Regions from separate parts of the Homo sapiens genome. Here all the other regions are linked to region 1. Evidence: promoter capture Hi-C in 16 types of primary human blood cells and fetal thymus (Javierre and others, 2016). All regions are on one chromosome and are shown on one strand. The core of a region is centred on a gene start or on the middle of the fragment in contact, and the rest is flanking DNA. Distances in the headings are between cores, read along the strand shown. Region 1 holds the start of NDUFA6 (NADH:ubiquinone oxidoreductase subunit A6). Region 2 has its middle 5.2 kb from the start of SNU13. Region 3 has its middle 41 kb from the start of NFAM1. Region 4 holds the start of CCDC134 (coiled-coil domain containing 134). Region 5 overlaps LOC124905126 (a long non-coding RNA gene).

The links. The method cuts DNA at HindIII sites, captures the fragments that hold promoters and counts their contacts. A CHiCAGO score of 5 or more calls a contact.
Region 2: a fragment that was not itself captured here is called in contact with the fragment with the promoter of NDUFA6 in region 1 in 1 of 17 cell types (naive CD4 T cells); the score reaches 5.1 in naive CD4 T cells.
Region 3: a contact is called between a fragment that was not itself captured here and the fragment with the promoter of NDUFA6 in region 1, in 16 of 17 cell types (M1 macrophages, M2 macrophages, M0 macrophages and 13 more). The highest score is 18.1, in M1 macrophages.
Region 4: the fragment with the promoter of CCDC134 here is called in contact with the fragment with the promoter of NDUFA6 in region 1 in 3 of 17 cell types (total B cells, endothelial precursors and naive B cells); the score reaches 7.6 in total B cells.
Region 5: a contact is called between a fragment that was not itself captured here and the fragment with the promoter of NDUFA6 in region 1, in 7 of 17 cell types (non-activated CD4 T cells, activated CD4 T cells, neutrophils and 4 more). The highest score is 6.9, in non-activated CD4 T cells.

The regions. Positions count from the first base shown.
Region 1 is chr22:42,088,517-42,092,508 of GRCh38, forward strand. NDUFA6 (NADH:ubiquinone oxidoreductase subunit A6) reads right to left here and starts at 2,256. Exons shown (of 3, transcript NM_002490.6): 1 at 2,090-2,256. The coding sequence starts at 2,228. NDUFA6-DT (NDUFA6 divergent transcript) reads left to right here and starts at 2,417. Exons shown (of 5, transcript NR_034118.2): 1 at 2,417-2,665; 2 at 2,781-3,084; 3 at 3,603-3,716. The HindIII fragment of the contact is 8,372 bases long and covers 1-3,418 here.
Region 2 is chr22:41,692,033-41,696,024 of GRCh38, forward strand. It overlaps the pseudogene C22orf46P. Among named protein-coding and RNA genes, the nearest start is that of SNU13, 5.2 kb to the left of the region's middle. The HindIII fragment of the contact is 7,463 bases long and covers 1-3,992 here.
Region 3 is chr22:42,471,829-42,475,820 of GRCh38, forward strand. No RefSeq gene overlaps it. Among named protein-coding and RNA genes, the nearest start is that of NFAM1, 41 kb to the left of the region's middle. The HindIII fragment of the contact is 2,851 bases long and covers 471-3,321 here.
Region 4 is chr22:41,798,661-41,802,652 of GRCh38, forward strand. It overlaps CCDC134 (coiled-coil domain containing 134), which reads left to right and starts at 2,019. Exons shown (of 7, transcript NM_024821.5): 1 at 2,019-2,106. It overlaps MEI1 (meiotic double-stranded break formation protein 1), which reads left to right. Exons shown (of 31, transcript NM_152513.4): 31 at 594-794. The coding sequence ends at 639. RefSeq lists enhancers at 840-1,826, 1,602-1,681, 1,752-1,831 and silencers at 1,302-1,391, 1,982-2,041. The HindIII fragment of the contact is 12,855 bases long and covers 237-3,992 here.
Region 5 is chr22:42,369,785-42,373,776 of GRCh38, forward strand. LOC124905126 (a long non-coding RNA gene) reads left to right here. Exons shown (of 2, transcript XR_007068114.1): 2 at 1,678-2,042. Among named protein-coding and RNA genes, the nearest start is that of LINC01315, 2.6 kb to the left of the region's middle. The HindIII fragment of the contact is 1,667 bases long and covers 1,412-3,078 here.

The sequences.
Region 1 (3,992 bases), core at 1,006-3,505:
CAAGACAGCCTGGCCAACATGGTGAAACCCCGTTTCTACTAAAAATACAAAAGTTAGCCAGGTGTGGTGGCACGCAACTATAATCCCAGCTACTCGGGAGGCTGAGGCATGGGGAAATCACTTGAACCCGGGAGGTGGAGGTTGCAGTGAGCCAAGATCGCGCCATTGCCCTCCAGCCTGGGAGACAAGAGCGAGACTCTGTCTCAAAAAAAAAAAAAAAAAAAAAAGTGAGTTATCATTACTGTTTTTTTCATTAAATACTTAAAATTTTACTTTTGTTTTTTATTAATGCTCAGGCTGTTCTAAGTTCTCAACACTATTACTTATTCCCCTTCCTTGATTTGATTCCTCAGCTGGAGTCCTGATGATGGATACCATAAAACCCGTGTGGCACAGGTTTGAGTAACTGGCCAGCTACAGATCACTGATCTTCCCCATAGGGATGCATACTCCTTGACCCCTTCTTTTCTCTCCTCTTCCCTTGCTTTCTAGGCTCCTGTAGCCCTCTGCCTTCTTTTCCTCCTCTCAAGACCCTTCTGACTTTGGGACTTTCTTCCCAAAACAGAATTTGAGGGAAGGTCTTGGGAGGGGTCGGTTTAGAAAGAGCTGGATCCTCAGAGTCAGGATACCTGGGTTCTGTCTTCTACTTGGCCACTGATTTACCCTTCACAAGCCACCCTTTTTGAATGTGGTCCTCCTTCCCCCAGCACCTTCCTCCTGCAACCAGAGAGGGTTCTGGGTACTCCTAGAAGTATTCTGCCAGGCAAACATTATGTTTTCAAACTGCTGAATTTGAATGCACCACCCCGAAACACACACACACACACACACACACACACTGCTACAGTCACTCCCCACACACATCTTTTATCTGCCTGCCCCTGAAGGCATCTGAATTTGCAGTCCCTGAACCAGCAGATCACTCAAGTTTCTCCTTCTCTAGTATCGCGTGGGTTTAAGTTCTGGTCAGTAGCAATTTTTCCAAAAGTCAGCTTGAAGACAGGGACTCTGTGGAGCAGACACAGTTCTCATATGTCAAAGAACCGGGTTCTGCTTGGAAGCTGCTGCTAAGGAAAGCCCTATAAATAACAAAAATAACAACAAAAACAACGGCAGCAGCTAATATTTAATGAGTTAAATATGCATCAAGTCCTGTTCTAAGCACTCTAGATATTTTAACTTAATACAGTAACCTTCTGAAGAAGGAATTATTATTCCCATTTTAAAGATGAAGAAACTGAGGAATAGATGAAATAACTGGCCCAAGGTCACACAGCTAGTTGAGGGCAGCGCCTGAAGAAAAGTCCGTGCTCCTAACCACCACATTCTACCGCCTTTTCACACACACAAGCAGGGACTCGACAGCCCTGAGGAGTGGCACCGTGCTCCAGCTCACTCAAAAACACCTCTTTCTCGCACTTTGGGAGGCCGAGACGGGCGGATCACGAGGTCAGGAGATCGAGACCATTCTGGCTAACACGGTGAAATCCCGTCTCTACTAAAAATACAAAAAAAAATGGCCGGCGTGGTGGCGGGCGCCTGTAATCCCAGCTATTCGGGAGGCTGAGGCTGAGGCAGGAGAATGACGTGAATCCGGGAGGCGGAGCTTGCAGTGAGCCGAGATCGCACCACTGCACTCCAGCCTGAGCGACACAGCGAGACTCTGTCACAAACAAAAAAATCCAACGGGCATCTATAATTACACTCTGCAACTCTAGACTTTGGGTTCTGGGTACAACAGTGGCTCGGCCTGGGCCCTGGGCACATCACTTCACCTCTCGGTGCCTCCGCTGCCTCACCCACAAAGTGAGTGTGTCACTGACAGTCATCGTCCTCCCGCCAATTGCGAAGGACAAAAGAGACCAAAGCTCCGATAGCACGTACGAATGCTAGGCACGGCCGGTCTGACCACCGCGCCGCCGCCAGGTCCGGCCCATGGTAGGCTCGGGTGACCCTCTTCCCCTGAAGCACCCGCAGTCGCCTCTGCCCAAGTTGGTGACCTCAGCTGGGCCCATGAGAAACCCCGGCCGGGCCGGCTACGACCTTGAGCGGCGGCCTCCGGGTCCCCACGTAAGCCGCTACCTCTCACCAGTGTTCGGCACCTCCCGATACCAGGCGCGGTAGAGCTCGCGCACCCTCCGCTTGGCCTCGTTCATGTCCCGACTGAAAATGGGCTTCACGAAGGTGCTGGCGGTAGAAGTAGCTTGGCGGACGCCGCTCCCCGCCATCTTGCCAAAGCATCCACTCCACAACCCCACCCCTTTGCAAGCAGCGCGTGCGGACCGCGGGCGAATGTCTTTTCCCATTGGCTAAGGAGGAACGCCCCGCCTGTATGCTGGGTGGGCGGGAGGATGACTCTGAGGCTCTCGGATTGGCTGGGAAGCCTCTCTCTGGCTGAGCGAACGGTGGGTGCTGCGCATGCTCATCTACAGAAACGCCGCTTGGCCTTTGGACTACACCATCTGTCGCTCGCTCTAACGAGCCGGCGTTGCCGCCAGGGGACGCTCGGGCCGCAGGAGGTCGCTGGGTCGTGAGCTGGCGCCGGGGACGCCGAGCGACTGCGGGGTTTCCCTCAGCGTCCTGCTATCCGGCTGCCCGCCGCGCTCCTTGGTAGTGTCCGTGGGCGCGCAGGCCTTGAAGAACCTCCTCGTGGCGGGACCCCGAGGTAACTGCTGAGGCAGATAATGGCGCCTGGGCTGCGGTGGGGCTTGTCCTGCCGCCTGGCGGCTTTCTGCAGGGCCAGGATATACTTACTTTTCTGTAAACCAACTCTTCCTTAGCGCAGGAGAGGTGTCAAAGAGCTGGCGCGTCTCCAGAGCCCCGGGAGGAAGGCTGTAACGGCAGCCCCATCGTAGACAGGGACATTCGCATCCCGAGCCCTGGATCTCTGAAAACCAGCCCAGAATTTGGAAGCTGGAAGGAACTTTAGATCGTCCATTCTGAGTGTCTCTCTTCGCTGGCGTTTTCCCACTGAGGTTATGTAAACATGAAGAGGAGCCTACAAGTGTCAAGGAAAAAACGACAGCTAACCACAGGGCAGGCCATGGGCAAGATATCTCAGTGTTCTCCGCTCTCATAGGTCAGGTAGGTACCTCAGCATCCCCATTTTACAGGTGAGGAAACTGAGATGGCCCAGAGTCTAGGTCACCTGACAGATCGCCCCCACCTGCCTGACTGCTGCCTAAGAGGCTCCGTCTTTTTCTGAAGGTGTAGTTGACAGGAGCCTGTGAGTATTGGGGAAGGGCCAGGGGCCGGGGCTGAGCATCTACTCCAAACTTTCCCATTTCGAAGGGTTAAAAAACCAGATATACTTTTTTTCTTCCTTATTATCTTCTAAAATGTATATATATATTCAAGTGAGCTATACAAAAGAAAGCACGTAACATATATAAATTATAAAGCATAATAATAAAATGGAAGCTTTTGAACCTCAGTACTGACTTAAGAAGTTGTAACACAGTTAAGGTTTGTATAAAGTGTCCTTAGATGTCCTTAGTAGCCACTGTTCTCTAGTTCTCTAGGTACATTAACTTGGCTAGGCTTCACAACACACCAGTGAGATTGTGTTGATATACCCTTTTTTTTTTTTTTTTTTGAGACAGAGTGAGACTCACCTAGGCTGGACTGCAATGGTGCAATCTCGGCTCACTGCAACCTCCGCCTCTCATGTTCAAGCCATTCTCCTGCCTCAGCTTTCCGAATCGCTGGGATTACAGGTGCGCACCACCATGCATGGCTAATGCTTGTATTTTAGTAGAGACGGGGTTTTGCTATGTTGGCCAGGCTGGTCTCAAACTCCTGACTTCAGGTGATCCACCCACCTCAGCCTCCCAAAGTGCTGGGATTACAGGTGTGAGCCACTGCCCCCGGCTGATATACTCATTTTATAGATGAGAAAACTGAGGCACAAAGAGACTAAGTTACTTTACAGCATTGGGGTTGAAGCCCAGGCAGCTGGTGCCAGAGTCAGTTTTCTGACTCTCGCAGCACCT
Region 2 (3,992 bases), core at 1,068-3,567, 400 kb before region 1:
AATGAGCCACCACTCCTAGCCAACTCTGCAGATTTCTTTCTTGTTTTTCTTTTTTTTCTTTTCTTTTTTTTTTTTTTTTGAGATGGAGTCTTGCTGTGTGGCCCAGGCTAAAGTCCAGTGGTGCGATCTCGGCTCACAGCAACCTCTGCCTCCCAGGTTCAAGTGATTCTCTTGACTCTGCCTCCCTAGTAGCTGGGATTACAGGCATGTGCCACCACGCACAGCTAATTTTTGTATTTTTAGTAGACACAGGGTTTCACCATGTTGGTCTGGCTGGTCTCGAACTCCTGACCTCAAGTGATCCACCCACCTTGGCCTCCCAAAGCGTTGGGATTACAGGTGTGAGCCACCACGCCTGGTCGACTCTGGATTTCTTTCTTTCTTTCTTTCTTTCTTTGAGACGGAGTCTTGCTCTGTCACCCAGACTGGAGTGCAGTGGCGCGATCTCGGCCCACTGAAAGCTCCACCTCCCGGGTTCATGCCATTCTCCTGCCTAAGCCTCCTGAGTAGCTGGGACTACAGGTGCCCGCCACCATGCCTGGCCAATTTTTTTTTTTTTTTTGTATTTTTAGTAGAGACGGGGTTTCATCGTGTTAGCCAGGATGGTCTCAATCTCCTGACCTTGTGATCCGCCCACCTCGACCTCCCAAAGTGCTGGGATTACAGGCGTGAGCCAGTGCACCCAGCCTCTTCTTTTTTTTTTTTTTTCAGATGGAGTCACGCTCTGTCACCCAGGCTGGACTGCAGTGGCGTGATCTTGGCTCACTGCAACCTCCGCCTCCTGGGTTCAAGCAATTCTTGTGCCTCAGCCTCCTGAGTAGCTGGGATTACAGGCATGCGCCATGATGGCTGGCTAATTTTTGTATTTTTAGTAGAGAAGGGGTTTTGCCATGTTGGCCAGGCTGGTCTGGAACTCCTGACCTCAAGTGATCCACCCATCTTGGCCTCCCAAAGTGCTGGGATTACAGACATGAGCCACCATGCCCTGCCATCAGAACAAACTTTTAGAAACAGAACATAGCACTTAGCTGCTCAAAACCCTGCAATGGCTCCTATACTTACATTATCTGGCAAACTCAGAATAAAATTCTCGCTCCTAATCACGACTCTAAGGACCAGCATAATCTGTCCCATGTTTGTCTCCGATCTTATCTCCCAGTGCTCTCCTCATTACTGGTTCCATTCTGGCCACACAGTCTTCTTTGCTGTTCCTGTACATGTAATTTTGTTCCATCCTCAAGCCTTTGTACTTAATGTCTCTTCTGCCTACAACGCTCTTTCCTCAGATGTCACTTGGTTTGCCCCTTACTTCATTCAGGCTCCAGTCAAATGTCACTTCCTCCAAGAAGCCTTTCCTGACTATTCTGTCTGTGCGGATTATGCAAGTTATTATGTGTGCAAGGATTTTGCTTCTCTGTTCTCATCTACAGGTGCCACTGCAGAAGCGGGCAGTGCCCTCCATGAGGTGCGAAACTGTCTTCAAGCTGACTCCTGAATTCTTCAGTCCTGGAAAGTCCAGGGGCCTAGATTCTCAACAATGCGCACAAAGGCAGAGATGGGGATACCGGAGGAGCCTCCAGGAATCATGGGCCCAGAACCTGCTCTCTCCACAGCACCCATGTCCAGGCCCACCTTCGGGTGTCCACACCCACTCTGAGCCCATCTTTTGTACCACCTCCATTTCAAACACCTGTTTACTGCCTCAGAACAGTTCCTGGAAAGCATGGCAGGTGCCTTGGTGTCTCCATGATGGTCAGACTCGCCCTGCCTTGGACATGTGTCAAGAGATGGAGCAGCTGCTGCTTCACTCACAGGAAAGGTTGGTGTCACTGGAGCCTGTCATCAGTGTGAGGTCTCGCCCCACCTCCATGACCTTAACCACCTCTCTTCCAAACTTACTTTCAGCTGAGAGGCTGCAGTTCTGCCCCCAGAGAGCTCCTGCCTGATCCTTCCCACCAAACACTGAGAATGTGCACTTGGAAGTCTTGGCACTGTCGACCAGAGGCCTGGGAACCAGGGGGTAAAAACCAGAAAGCAGGCAGAGAGGATAGTAGAGAGACCCAGGCTCCAAGGTGGGTGAACCAGACAGGGAGCAGACGGGAGGATGCTTCAGAAATCCAGGCATCTGGGGAGTAGTTCCCAGTAGACTTTGGAATGGAGGGTGATGCAGAGACTAACGTGTTGGAGTGTGCAAACCAGAGACTAGTAATAAGTGAAACTGATGGCGAGATCTTGACACCAGGGTGGGACACCCAGGACCGGATGGGAGTTGAGAGTAGAACCAACATTCAGGAACTAGGGAATAGAAACCAGAGGGAGGCTGGAGGTGAGAATCTCCCTGAAACCCAGGCACATATGGGAGAGAACCAAGAACAGTTAAGATGTAAAATTGATGCAGAGACCCAAACACCTGAGTGGGAGAACCAGGATAAGAATGGAAGTGAGGATGCTGTGGAGACCCAGACATTTGAGAAGAAGGACAAGAAAGAGGCTGGAGAGGAGGATGGGGAAGAGATCCAGGCTCAAGGATTGGGGAAGCAAGGCCAGACTGGAGATGAGAATGGTGAGGAGACCCAGACACCACAGTGGGAGAAACAAGATCAGATGAAAGGTGATGCGGATGTGGAAATTCAGATGGAAGAGGGGAGAAACAAGGATCAGGTTGGAGGTCAGGATGCTGCACAAACCCAATCATGTGGGAGGGAGAACGTGGGAGAAGTAAAAAAAGAGAATAGTGTAGAGACCCAGGCCTTGGATTGGGGAAAACAGGAATGTGTTGGAAATGGGAATGTTACAGAGATCCAGACACCAAGGTGGGAGAAGCATGATCAAGGTGGAAGTAAGAAAGCTAAGAAGACCCAAGCATCTGGGGGAGAGAACCAGAAACAATTAAGTCATGAAATTCAAGTGGGGTGGGGAAATAAGGGCCTGAGAAGAGATGAAGATGCTAAGGAAACCCAGATAGCTACCAAGAAGAAGCTCAGGGAGATAAGAGAAGGATTGGGTGGTGATCCAGGCACTATGGTGGGGAAACCGGAGACAAGTAGCAAGTGAAATTTATAGAGAATTTGAGATACTATGTTGGGAGAATCAGAACTGGATTGGAGGTGAACATAGAGCAGAAATTCAGGCATCAGAGAAGAGAGACCAAAGAAAGGATGGATGTGAGGATGGCACAAATATCCTGGCACCCGAGGCTGAGATCCAGGAACAATTAAAAGGTGAAACTGATGTGGAGACTCAGAGCAATGAGCCACTTAGAGAAGAGGATGGTACAGACATTCAGTCACTAGGGAGGAGAGAGGTTAAAGGTGAGGATGATAAAGACACCCAGGAACTTGGGAGGAAAAATCAGGGTCAGTTAGGAAATGAATTTAGTGGAAAGATTCACATACCAAAGGGGAAGAATCAGGAACATATTAGAGGCGAAGATGGTGCACATACCCAGATATCTGAGTCAGGGAACTGGGGCAAATTAACAAGTCAAATTGATGGAGAAATGCATTCAGCAGAATGGAAGAAAGATCAGCAGATTGGAGGTGAGAATGGGGCAGAAATTCAGATACAAGGGAAGAGAAACCTGAGAGAAGTTGGAGGTGAGGACGGTGTAAAGACCTGGGCACCTGGGAAAGAAACCCAGAGTCAGTTTAGAAGTGATCTTGGTAGAAAGATCCTTTTATCAGAGTGGAAGAGCCAGAAGCAGATGGGAAGTGAGAATGGAACAGAAATTCAGGCTCCAGTGGAGAGAAACCAGAGAGAACCTGGAGGTGAGGACGGTGTAAAGACTCAGAGACCTAAGAGAGAGAACGAGGACCAGTTAGATAGTGAAATTGGAGGGAGCCATTCACCAGGGAGGAGGAACTGGGAGCTGATTGGAAAGGATGTTGCAGAAAATCAGGCATCAGAGAAGAGAAACCAGAGAGAGGTTGGAAACGAGGACGGTAGAATGATCTGGAGGCTTAGGGGAAAAAACTGGAGGCTTAGAGCGAAGA
Region 3 (3,992 bases), core at 646-3,145, 380 kb after region 1:
TGTGCCCTTCCTTTAAGTAATTCCTCTCTATTTAGGATGACAGATATGGAACAATTCTAGTACATTTGTGATAAGTGCTATGCTACAAGTAAAAGAGGGATACTATCTTTTTTTTTTTTTTCGAGACAGGGTTTCACTCTGTAACCCAGGCGGGAGTGCAGTGGTGCAATCTTGGCTCACTGCAACCTCCATCTCCTGGGTTCAAGCGATTCTCGTGCCTCAGCCTCCCGAGTAGCTGGGATTACAGGTGTGTGCCACCATGCCAGGCTCTTTTTTTTTTTTTTCTTTTTGGTATTTTTAGTAGAGACAGGGTTTCACTATGTTGGCCAGACTGGCCTCGAACTCCTGACCTCAAATGACCTGCCCACCTCAGCCTCCCAAAGTGCTGGGATTACAGGCATGAGCCACCGCACCTGGCCAGATACTATCTTAGATGTATTAATATTTTTTCCTTCTCTTATTCAGTCAGAAGCTTCTGTTGGCCTCAAGGATAATTATGATTTTCATAGTAGGTAGGTGATGAGAAAGAAAGACGCTTTCACTTTTAAGTATTAAGACTGACTCCAAGTGCATGTGATTCGGTAGTCTTGAAACTGAGCTTTCAGAGAAAAAAGAGATTTTCTAAATTCCAAAGGCTCTGCTTTAAGACGTAAATAACAGAATCCTGGACTTGGATTATAAGCAGTGCACAGGGTCTGAAGGTGTGACTTAGGGAAGTTCCCATCAGTAGGAAGACACAGGAGATCAGATGTCAGCGTCCTGATTCCCTCCTCGGGGTTAACACAGTGGTAGCAAGGCCTGCGGTGAGCATGGCAGCAGAACGACAGGGGCTGCTCAGGCATGCTTTGGAAATGGCCAGGAAAGGGTCTAGGACAGTGGCCTGGAAGGCAGCCTCACAGATCTAGTGTGAGGCTACACCCAGCCTACACTCTCTAGTGTGGAGTGGGAAAAGCAGCCCAGGCCCTGATGAATCAAAAGACTGAGATTGGGGTACAGAGGCCAGGCTGGGAGCCCTGGGCTGGAGGTTGAGAATAATGCATGATGGTATCGCCTCGTGGACACCAGGACGGAAGGTCCAGGAACCGCCCTGGCCATGGCTGAGAGGCAGGAGCCAGGAGGGTGCCCTAGTTACCCCGCACCCTAGCAGCATCTCAGAAAGGAGCAGGGAGAGACACTTGATCGGAACTTGAACCTGAACTTGAACTTTAATCTTGACGCGTTAATGAGGAAGGGAGTTTTGGAAGACTGAAGAGGCTGAGTTAGCTCTGATGAGCATGTTCCTGGTGTTATTTCCTTTCTCTCTTTTGCCGTGAGCAAGAGTGGGGACTTGCGAGCTCAAGGGAATCAGTTATAGACCATTTTTAGTTCTATTTCTGTGCACATCTGCCTGCATACAGCATAAAGATTTTTACCCTGGTTGAGGCGTGCACGGGATGCTGGGATTACAGGCGTGAGCCACCGTACCCACCTGACCCTAAATTATTTTTGGTTCCTCCAATCCAACTTTCTTCCATAGAATACTAAGAATGGGAATTGCTCTGTTCCTAAGGCACTATAAGCTGAAACTAAATGAATTTTAAGGGATGAGTCTTGTGTGTGATCTATGGACCATATAGAAAGTTCACTGGACTGCCTCATGCCATGAGCAGAGACAGTCTAACTGTAAACCAGGACAAGCAGTTGATGGCTTCATGCTGTGGGTGGCTTTTCCCAAGACAACAGAACAAGAGTCCCCATCATGAGCCTCTTGTCCCTCTTAATTCTTCCCTGCTTATGCCAATTTTTTCCACTTGGCAGGATAATGATGCAACTGAAACTTCCCAATCAGTAGCTTCTGCTGGTAACTTGACAGAACCTGACCTAAGAGATCCTTTAGGCCACCTAGTGGGTAACTTTGGCAACATCCCTAATAGAACTGTTGTTCACTCGGCTTTAATGCATCCCAGTTGTGGGATACTAGATGATGAATTTGCTCTATATTATTTATTGGTTGGATAAGGAAATGTCTGTGCTATTGCTAATACTACATGCCACACCTGGATAAATTTCTTTGGGGAAGTTGAGACCCAAATACACAAAATAAGAAAACAAGTCACTTGGTTACAACAGGTCTCATCTAATTCTCCATGGTCATTCGATTTATTCAATGTATTCCCTTTAAGTCTAGGTTCATAGCTCAAAACCATTATGCAAACTAGGGTTACCATTTTTATTTATTTATTTATTATTTATTTATTTATTTATTTATTTATTTATTTATTTATTTTTGAGACAGAGTTGCGTGCTGTCACCCAGACTGGAGTGTAGTGACACGATCTCAGCTCACTGCAACCTCCGCCTCCTGGGTGTGAATCCTCCTGCCTCAGCCTCCCGAGAAGCTGGGACTACAGGCATGCACCACCACGTCCAGCTAATTTTTTTTTTTTTTTTGAGCCGGAGTCTTGCTCTATCACCCAGGCTGGAGTGCAGTGGCTATATCTCGGCTCACTGCAAGCTCTGCCTCCTGGGTTCACGCCATTCTCCTGCCTCAGCCTCCCGAGTAGCTGGGACTACAGGTGCCTGCCACCATGCCCAGCTAATTTTTTGTATTTTTTTTTTTTTTAGTGGAGATGGGGTTTCACCGTGTTAGCCAGGATGGTCTTGATCTCCTAACCTCGTGATCTGCCCTCCTCAGCCTCCCAAAGTGCTGGGATTACAGGCGTGAGCCACCGCGCCCAGCCACGTCCAGCTAATTTTTTGTAGAGACAGGATTTCACCATGTTGCCCAGGCTGGTCTCAAACTCCTGGGCTCAAGAGATCCACCCACTTCAGACTCCCAAAGTGCTGGGATTACAGGTGTGAGCCACTGCACCTGGCTATCCCTTCTCTTAGAAGGATGAATCAGTCTATTCAGTAAATTTAAAAGGTGACTGGGGCTGGGCGTGGTGGTTCACATCTGTAATTCCAGCACTGTGGGAGGCCGAGGCAGGTGGATCACCTGAGGTCAGGAGTTCGAGACCAGTATGACCAACACGGTGAAACCCCATCTCTACTAATAATACAAAAATTAGCCAGGTGTGGTGGTGCACAACTGTAATCCCAGCTACTCTGGAGGCTGACGCAGGAGAATCACTTGAACCCAGGAAGTGGAGGTTGCAGTGAGCCGAGATCGCACCAGTCACTCCAATAGAGTGAGACTCTGTCTCAAAAAAAAAAAGAAAAAGTGACCTTATGAATGGGTAACAATTGCCTGTGTCTTACAGCCAGATCTCAAACAACTTCGTGAACAAATCTACAAGAATCACACATTGTTAAAACACAGCCATCTCACACACAGAATCAAGCTTGTGTTTGACAATGGCATGGAAATCACACTAATTATGATGACCTAGGCTGGGAGAGAAAACCAGTGCACCTGCACTATCTGATCCCAGCCTCCCTCTGAGCCTCACCTGGGGTCACTCTTCCCCTTAGTGTGCTGTAGCCACTCTAGATCCCACCTGCTCCTAAACACACCCATCTCTTCTCTGCCCCGGGGCCTTTGCACGTGGCACTCCCTCTGCCTGAGAAGCTGCCACTTGATGTTGTCAGCTCCTTCTTATGCTTCAGATCTTCCTTTCAATGCCAGCTACTCACAGAAGCCCTCCCTGACCACCCTGTTCAAAGTAGCATCCTCACTGTGGTAGCAGGATGATGCCTCCCCCAAGATGTCCATGTCCTAATCCCTGGTACCTGTGAATATGTTATGTTACGTGGCAAGAGGGAATGAAGGTTGAAGATGAAATGAAGTTTGCTAATTAGCTGACTTTGTTTTATTATATTTTAGTTTTTTTGTGAAGGAGTCTCACTCTGTCGCCCAGACTGGAGTGCAGTAGTGCAATCTCAGCTCACTGCAACCTCTGCCTCCCAGGTTCAAGCAATTCTCCTGCCTCAGCCTCCTGAGTAGCTAGGGTTACAGGTGCCCGCCACCAGGCCTGGCTAATTTTTGTATTTTTTGGTAGAGATGGGGTTTC
Region 4 (3,992 bases), core at 769-3,268, 290 kb before region 1:
GTTCTGAGACGAGCCTGGCCTACATGGTAAAACCCCATCTCTACTAAAAATACAAAAATTAGCCGGGCATGGTGGTGCATGCCTGTAATCCAAGCTACTTGGGAGGATGAGGCAGGACAATCACTTGAACCTGGGAGGTGGAGATTGCAGTGACCAGAGAGCCGAGATTGTGCCACTGCACACTCCAGCCTGGGTGGCAGAGTGAGACTATGTCTCAAAAAAAAAAAAAAAAAGCAAGCTTGGGGCTGTGGCAGTGGTCAGAGACCCTCTGGTAGGTGGCTGGTTGCACCCAGAGACACTGCAGTCCAGAGATACTGCAGTCCAGAGGTGTGTGTGAGGGTAGTTTGCTTCCTCTGCACCCCTCTGGCTGCCTCCCTGGCTCTCTTCCTTGCCCCTTCCGTGCAATAGTTCCCTGTTGAATAGCAACTACCTAGCCCAGGTGTTCAGGACCCAATTTCAGAATCCATCCCACTATTCTCAGGAGCACTTCTGTTCTTGCCTGACCATTCTTGACTGTTTTGGGCTCTGGAAGTGTGATGCCCCCATGGTTGGCCCCACTTCTCTGCTGTTTTCCTCTCATGTTTTGCTGCCAGCTGCCTGGGAGGGGTGGCTGTATCCCTGTCCCACATCAGAAACTGATCCTCAGGACTTGAAGGCCCAGAAGTGGAGAGAGAATGAGACCTGGAGACAAAGGGCATAATTGTTGGGGAAATGGATGACAGCTGAAGCTATTCATATGGAGCCATATACTCTATTGTTGAAATAGAATAAGGAAATAAAATGATACACTCACATACCTGCGCGAGCTCTCCAAAAACACTGTACTACCTTGTCTACCAGGAGCTGGTTTCTCAGCCAGTTGGATAAGGGATTGTTTCAGCAAGGAGACTGATGGCCTCCTCAGGGAAGGAGGGACGGGACAGGATTTGTTCTTGTAACAGCATTCAAGGAGTCAGCTGGGTGCCTCAGCTGTACTCAGAGAACACCAGTCAGGCCATCCTGGGGCTGGCAGGGCAGAGAAAGGCCTAGGGGTTGGGGCTGCTGCGATTCAACAGCTCCCAGAGGCACTTGACCTGCTCCCTCGCCTCACGTGGAGGTGGATAGAGGTAAACTTTCCAGGCAAGGAGGGTCAAATTCTCAGCTTTCCTATCAGAACGAAACTGTCCCAGCCTCAGCCCTTGTCTGGCTAAAGTAGGTCACCTCTGTCCCTTCCCGTACAGCCGTCATCAGAACTGGTGTTTATGCACCCTCGTGGGTAGATCCTGGGAATGCATGTCCAGCTTGGTCCCCGGCATGAGGTCTGCGCTCGACAGTGCCTGCCCTGCGCCTGTTCTGGGGAGCTCAGCCCAGACCGGGCCTCCAGCTCCCTTCCCGCCCGGCAGGGGCCCCGGGCCCGGAGATGGCCACGCCACGCTGCCTTCTCGGGTCTGACTGTCCTGATCCTGCGCAAAAGTGGGGCTGCACTCGGCCTAACGAACGGACGAGGAAGCCCCCGCCGCACTTGGCTTATTAGTTGGTGGACCGGAGGGGCAAGGAGGGGATGCCCGAATCCTGCACTGAGTCTCTGAGGTCCTTAAAGAAGAACAAAAGTGCTAGTCACCGCCCACTAAACTCACGTTGCGATCTAAAGTTTAAAAACTCGGCCACAGACGACGACACAGTTTCAGGGAGGGCGCGCAGAAGGTCGCCCGGCCGACAGGAGCTGGGACCCCAGTTTGCTGATTCACGCCTTAAATTGGGCACAGACCCCACCCACAGATTTAACTTCCTCCAACACAAGCTAAATCCAGGGCCACGTACCCAGGGCCCGCAGGAGGGACAGGACGAGGATGGTGCCCACAGCGCGCTGGAGGCACGCCAGAGCCTGGAGGGGCAGGCAGGGGCGGTGGAGCGGGGCCGGAAGTGAGGCTAGCGGAGCCCCGCAGTGGCGGCTCGCGCTCATTGGCCGGGAGCAGCGCGGTGGGCGGGACGGAGCTCGGCGGTCTGCGCTCGGTTGCTAGCCGTTTGCTCCCGCTTTCAGTTGCTTTGCTGTTAGCCTGTTGGACCTTCGAGCCTAGCTGCTCGCACAGGACTCGGCCACCTGCCCTTCCTGCACCGACTGGCCAGGTAGGTGGCTGTAGGGGCCGCGGGCTGCAGGTTCCCGGGAAGGATAATGAGAGAACCGAGGGCCTCGAACCGGCTGCAGGTGGTGGGGAGGGAGTTTCGTGGACCTGGACGCCTCTGTTCCTTGAGAAGGCTCGCTCCCTCCTCCGGGAGCTCCGAAGGCTCGGGGTCAACCACCTGGGCCCCCGACCCCGGTAGCTGGCTCAAGGCCCGCCACTACCTGGTACCTCTGCAGGAGTTCAGAGCCTCATGCTGAGCCAGGAGGAGCTCCGGGTGACGCATACGGCAGGATCGGGATTGAGAGGCTGAAAAAGTGAGTTTAACAGTAGAGAAAGCAGGACCTGTCCCGCAGGCTGCTGTTCTGGCTTTTCTTTCCCACTACCTGCTTCAGTCATTGCCAGCTGTCTGGTATTCTCCTTGGCCCCTAAAGTTTTGCCCTAGCCTGGTTCTGGTTCCCTTGAGTTTGGAGCAGGAGGTGGAATGTGGAGGGTCCTGGGTGAACTTGGACTATTCCTTCTCTAGGTTTCACTTATCTCGTCTGCTTGGGGGTAGGGGGTTCTCCGGATGATCTCTGCAGCCCCTCACTGTCTGTAACTGAGCATCTCTCCCCTGGGGCAGGTGTCCTGGTAGTTCAGTAGCCAGCTCTGATCTCAGGTAGCCTGTGCTCATTTACAAAGAGTCAGAAGACAGAGCACTGGACTTAGAGCCAAACAGACACTTGGTTCAGCCTGGGAATAGCTGTGTGACTTTGGGCAGTCACCTCATTTTTCTGTGCCTTGATTTCACATTGGTAACATTGGGGAGTTGTAATCTGAGTGTGAGACCTCTCCTGACCACTTTATGTAATCTTGTACCTGACCGACACCCTCTCATCCCTCTGTGCTTATTTTACAAGTTTATTGATCAACTCTTATCCCTACTAGAGACAAGTACCATGAGTGCAGAGATTTTTGCTTATTTATTGCTGTATTCCCGCCTCTAGAACAGTGCCTAGAGTGTGGTAGGTACTGTCAACCTAAATAGCAGAGTGAGAGACTCTAAAAAAATGATGTTTACTTGGGAATAGACATTGTAGTGACAATATGTGTGCCATAGTAACCTGTGTACGTATTTGGGGAGGTAAAGGAAGACAAAGGTTTTGAAAAGGAAAAATGAGGATTACATGATTATTTTGAGATAGTTATCCTTGGCTACAAGGATGAATAGCAAGAGTGGTGCTAGTCTGAGGTTGGACAGGCAGTTGCAGGGCAGATGTCCTCACAGAAAGATTTTTCTGTGTAAGTTTGCAGTGGCCTTTGTGCAGGGTTGTGGTTTTTGCATTTTTTGTGATCTTGTTATCAGTCATTTGTGCATAAGAACCCTCTTTTCACAACCTTCCTCGGTTTTATTTGTCAGAGTTGTTGTTCTTGTTTTTTCCCATTGGAGAATCATGCTTTAAATTTGTCAGAGTTTTTAACACAAACGACTCTGTTTTGATTCTAACAACTTTCATATTTCCCCCTTTTGGTCAAGATCTTTCTCCAAAAACTTTACTGATCAGTCATCCTGTAGTTAGGTCCCTCAGTGCTGGGACGGACCTATCTTGGGTTGTTGGTCTCTTGCCATGTTGGAGACTAGGAGTCTCCAGTTGGAGACTGGTGACTAGGAGTCAGTGTCAAAACCCTTGTAGTGGTTGGGAGCAGGGGCTCACGTCTGTAATCCCAGTACTTTGGGAGGTCAAGGAGGGAGTATCACTTGAGTCCAGAAGTTCAAGACCAGCCTGGGCAACCGCCAAGGCGGGCGGATCACCTGAGGTTGAGAGTTCGAGACCAGCCTGACCAACATGAAGAAACCCGTCTCTACTAAAATACAAAAATATATATAAATAACATCCGGGCGCGGTGGCTCAC
Region 5 (3,992 bases), core at 995-3,494, 280 kb after region 1:
TTACTATTCTCTCCCGAGGATGAGGAAACCGAGGTGCAGCGAAATTCGGTCACGTGGGGATGAATGGCTGAGCTGATGCTGGGACATGCTTACATTACTGGATCTCGGATCCTCTACACAGTGATGCCCTGTGCAGTGTCAGAGCTCAGTTTCCCGTCTATCAAGAGTGTTGTGTTAGAGCACAAGATAGGTTAGAAGATGGGTTATTACTGCCAGGTCCTGTGGCTCACGCCTATAATTCTAGCACTTTGGGAGGCCAGGGTGGGAGAAGCGCTTGCGCCCAGGAGTTCGAAACCAGCCTGGGCAACATGGCGAAACCCCGTCTCTACAAAAAAAAAATTAAGAAGTTTTCTGGGCATGGTGGTGTGCACCTGTACTCCCAGCTACTTGGGAGGCTGAGGTGGGAGGATCACTTGAGCCCAGGAGTTGGAAGCTGCAGTGTTATGATTGTACCACTTGCACTCCAGCCTGGGTGACAGAAAAAAAAAAAAACCCGTCTCTACTAAAAATACAAAAAATTAGCCTGGCGTGGTGGTGGGCACCTGTAGTCCCAGCTAGCTACTCGGGAAGCTGAGGCAAGAGAATGGCGTGAACCCGGGAGGCGGAGCTTGCAGTAAGCCGAGATGGCACCACTGCATTCCAGCCTGGGTGACAGAGTGAGACTCCATCTCAAAACAAAACAAAAACAAAAACAAAAAAACTTACTTCGGCCGGGCACAGTGGCTCACGCCTGTAATCCCAGCACTTTGGGAAGCCGAGGTGGGTGGATCACCTGAGGTCAGGAGTTCGAGACCAGCCTGGCCAACATCATGAAACCCCATCTCTACTAAAAAATACAAAAATTAGCTGAGCATGCTGGTGGGCACCTGTAATCCCAGCTACTCGGGAGGCTGGGGCAGGAGAATCACTTGAACCCAGGAGGCAGAGGTTGTAGTGAGCTGAGGTCATGCCACTGGCACTCCAGCCTGGGTGATAAGAGCGAAACTCTGTCTCAAAAAAAAAAAGTGTCATTTAAATGAACATGCTTGAACATGCTATACCCAGCACTGTGCTTGGCAGTATGAATGACACAGCCTCTGCTTCCATGTTAAATTCCTGGTAACCTGCTGGGCTCTTTCCCTTCCTGGGAATCCATCCCCTGAACCCCCCTCTGCACCCCCATCACAGGGGAAGTTGGAAGCACTCTGCTCAAACCATGCTGCATTGCCCACTCTGACAGTTTGGGGCATTTGGGGTGGATTTTCCTGTGGAAGTCATGGGGAGCACCGTGAAGCAGACTGACTTCCCGGCTGCTGTTCTCTGATGGAGAGGGGGTCCTTGGGATGCCCCCCCAAGTAGGTCCTTTTGATTGAGAGATGATGTATGAGATGGGATGGGGGAGAGGGCTTCCTCTGACAAAGGAAGGTGTAGAAGCTTCTCCCGGAGTTGGGCAGAGAAGGGTTAATCAACTAGAAAAATGCTGAGAGCCTGTCTCCCATAGGCAGCCAGATTGAGGCATGAAGAGGAGGAGCTGGCTTGGTGGTGTGGTGAATGAGTGCTCCCTGCATCTGTCTTCACATGGCCTTCTTATAGGGACATCAGTCATTAGATTTAGGCCCCATCCTAATCCGGTATGACCTCATCTTAAGAAGATTACATTTGCAAAGACCCTATTTCCTAATCAGGTTGCATTCACAGGTATCGGCGGTCAGGACTTCAATATATCTTTCTGGGGGACACAGTTCAACAAGGCTCAATGAGGAAAGAACATTTTGATTAGTAGGGAACATCGAGAGCAGAGGCCCCAGGGCTGCACAAGGTGGATGTCCCTGTCGCTGCCCACTGTTCTCTTGGGACTACACAGATCCTGGTGCCTAGCAGCTGTGGAAACAGAGTTGGGAGGCAGCCGACCCTCTGGACATCAGGCCTTTTCAGCTGACCCTGCCCAGCCTGGTGCCAGAGCAGGGCCCTGCCTGCCTGCCCCTCCTCCCTCTTCCTGCCTGGTCCTCATTCCCACCCACATCCCAAGATGGACAAGGACAATAAAAGCTGTTTCATAAGCAGCTGGTGATTAATTGCCAAGCTAATTAAAGAGGCAGTAATTGCACTCTGATTTCAGAGGAAGGAGTGATGTCTTGGGCAGGGGTGGGTGGTCAGCTTAGGTCTCCCTGACAAGGCAGAGCCAGAAGACAGAAAGGATTTGAAAAGCCAGGAAGAAAAAACAGGTGCACTTTTTTTTTTTTTTTGAAACGGAGTCTCGCTCTGTCTCTCAGGCTAGAGTGCAGTAGTGCAATGTTGGTCCACTGCAACCTCCACCTCCCAGGTTCAAGTGATTCTCCTGCTTCAGCCTCCCAAGTAGCTGGGACTACAGGTGCATGCCCCCATGCCCCACCAATTTTTTTTTTTTTAGACAGAGTCTCACTCTGCTGCCAGGCTGGAGTGCAGTGGCACGATCTCCGCTCACTGCAACCTCCGCCTCCTGGGTTCAAGCAATTCTCCTGCCTCAGCCTCCCTAGTAGCTGAGACTACAGGCATGCACCACCACACCCAGCTCATTTTTGTATTTTTAGTAGAGACAGGGTTTCACTATGTTGGCCAGGCTGGTCTCGAGCTCCTGACCTCAGGTGATCCTCCCTCCTCAGCCTCCCAAAGTGCTGGGACCACAGGCATGAGCCACTGTGCCCATCCGAAGCACCCTCTTTCTAGAGGTGCACCTGTTGGCTGCGCACAGTGGCTCACACCTGTAATCCCAGCGCTCTGGGAGGCCGATGTGGGTGGATCACCTGAGCTCAGGAGTTCGAGACCAGCCTGGCCAACATGGTGAAACCCTGTCTCTACTAAAAATACAAAAATTAGCTGGGTATGGTGGCACGCACCTGTAGTCCCAGCTACTTGAGAGGCTGAGGCAAGAGAATCGCTTGAACCTGGGAGGCTGCGGTTGCAGTGAGCCAAGATTGCACCATTGCACTCCAGCCCAGGCGACAGACAGAGACTCCATCTCAAAAAAAAAAAAAAAAAAAATAGTGGGTGCTTCAATCATAGCTGCACATAGCTGCAATATTTCATTTGACAGAGTCAGATGGGGGACTTAGATGCTTAAGCTTATCTCTGTACTTTTCCATGTCTTCGAAATATTTCATTAACATCCACACACACACAAAAATGGCAGGGGAGAGGTTAAGTGTTTCTAAATTCTAGTTTGGGATTTATAAATGGCTTCAAATACCAGTGTGCCTTACTTTACACAGTGGAGAGGGTCTTAAAATTCTGCGTCAATTGAATCCCGTTGGCCTACCCAGTAAATCTTAACGCCTCTGATGCTCTAGCTTCATTTCTGATTGATTTTCCCTGGCAGAGGTACCAAATTCTTTGCTTTAAGTGTCAGGCTCTCTCTGTCAAGTAGTTAATGACCTATAAAGCACTTAAAACGTACTGGAGGAGATGCGATTTGGAGGCACCCTGCAGTGTATCCTCTCTTATTGTCGGTAATCACCCCTCATTTATTTGCTCTTATTGGTTTGGAATTTGCTATCAGGTTTTCCTAAAGCCAAGCCCACCAGGAATGGTCCAATTCTATGTGGGCCCAGATGGGTGCCGGGATTGGAACCTAGGGGCAGTGGGCAGCCAGTGTGGCCTCTTTCCTCACGAGCCCTTCGGCTTGGGTGCCCTGGTCATCTCATGGCCACACATTCAGCGGCTCTGCCTCTTGCCAGCTGAGTGATCTTGAGCATTCAGTGCCCCCCTCCAAGCCTCACTTTCCTCTTCCACACTGCCCCAGAGCTGGTGCCTGCCCCTGAACAACTGGAAGATGACTCCAGCCTGGTGAAGTCAGTGCTGGGAGCCGTAGAAGAGGCCCAAGGTCAGGGTGAGCATGGAGGTCATGACCGAGGCAAGCTCCAGGGTCAGAGGTCATAGGAAGCATCCCCAAGGAGCACAAAACAGGGTGGGCCACTGACCTCGGGGCAGAAGAGCCTCTCAGAGAGGGGCCCAGCCTGGGAGGCAGAATAGGCTCT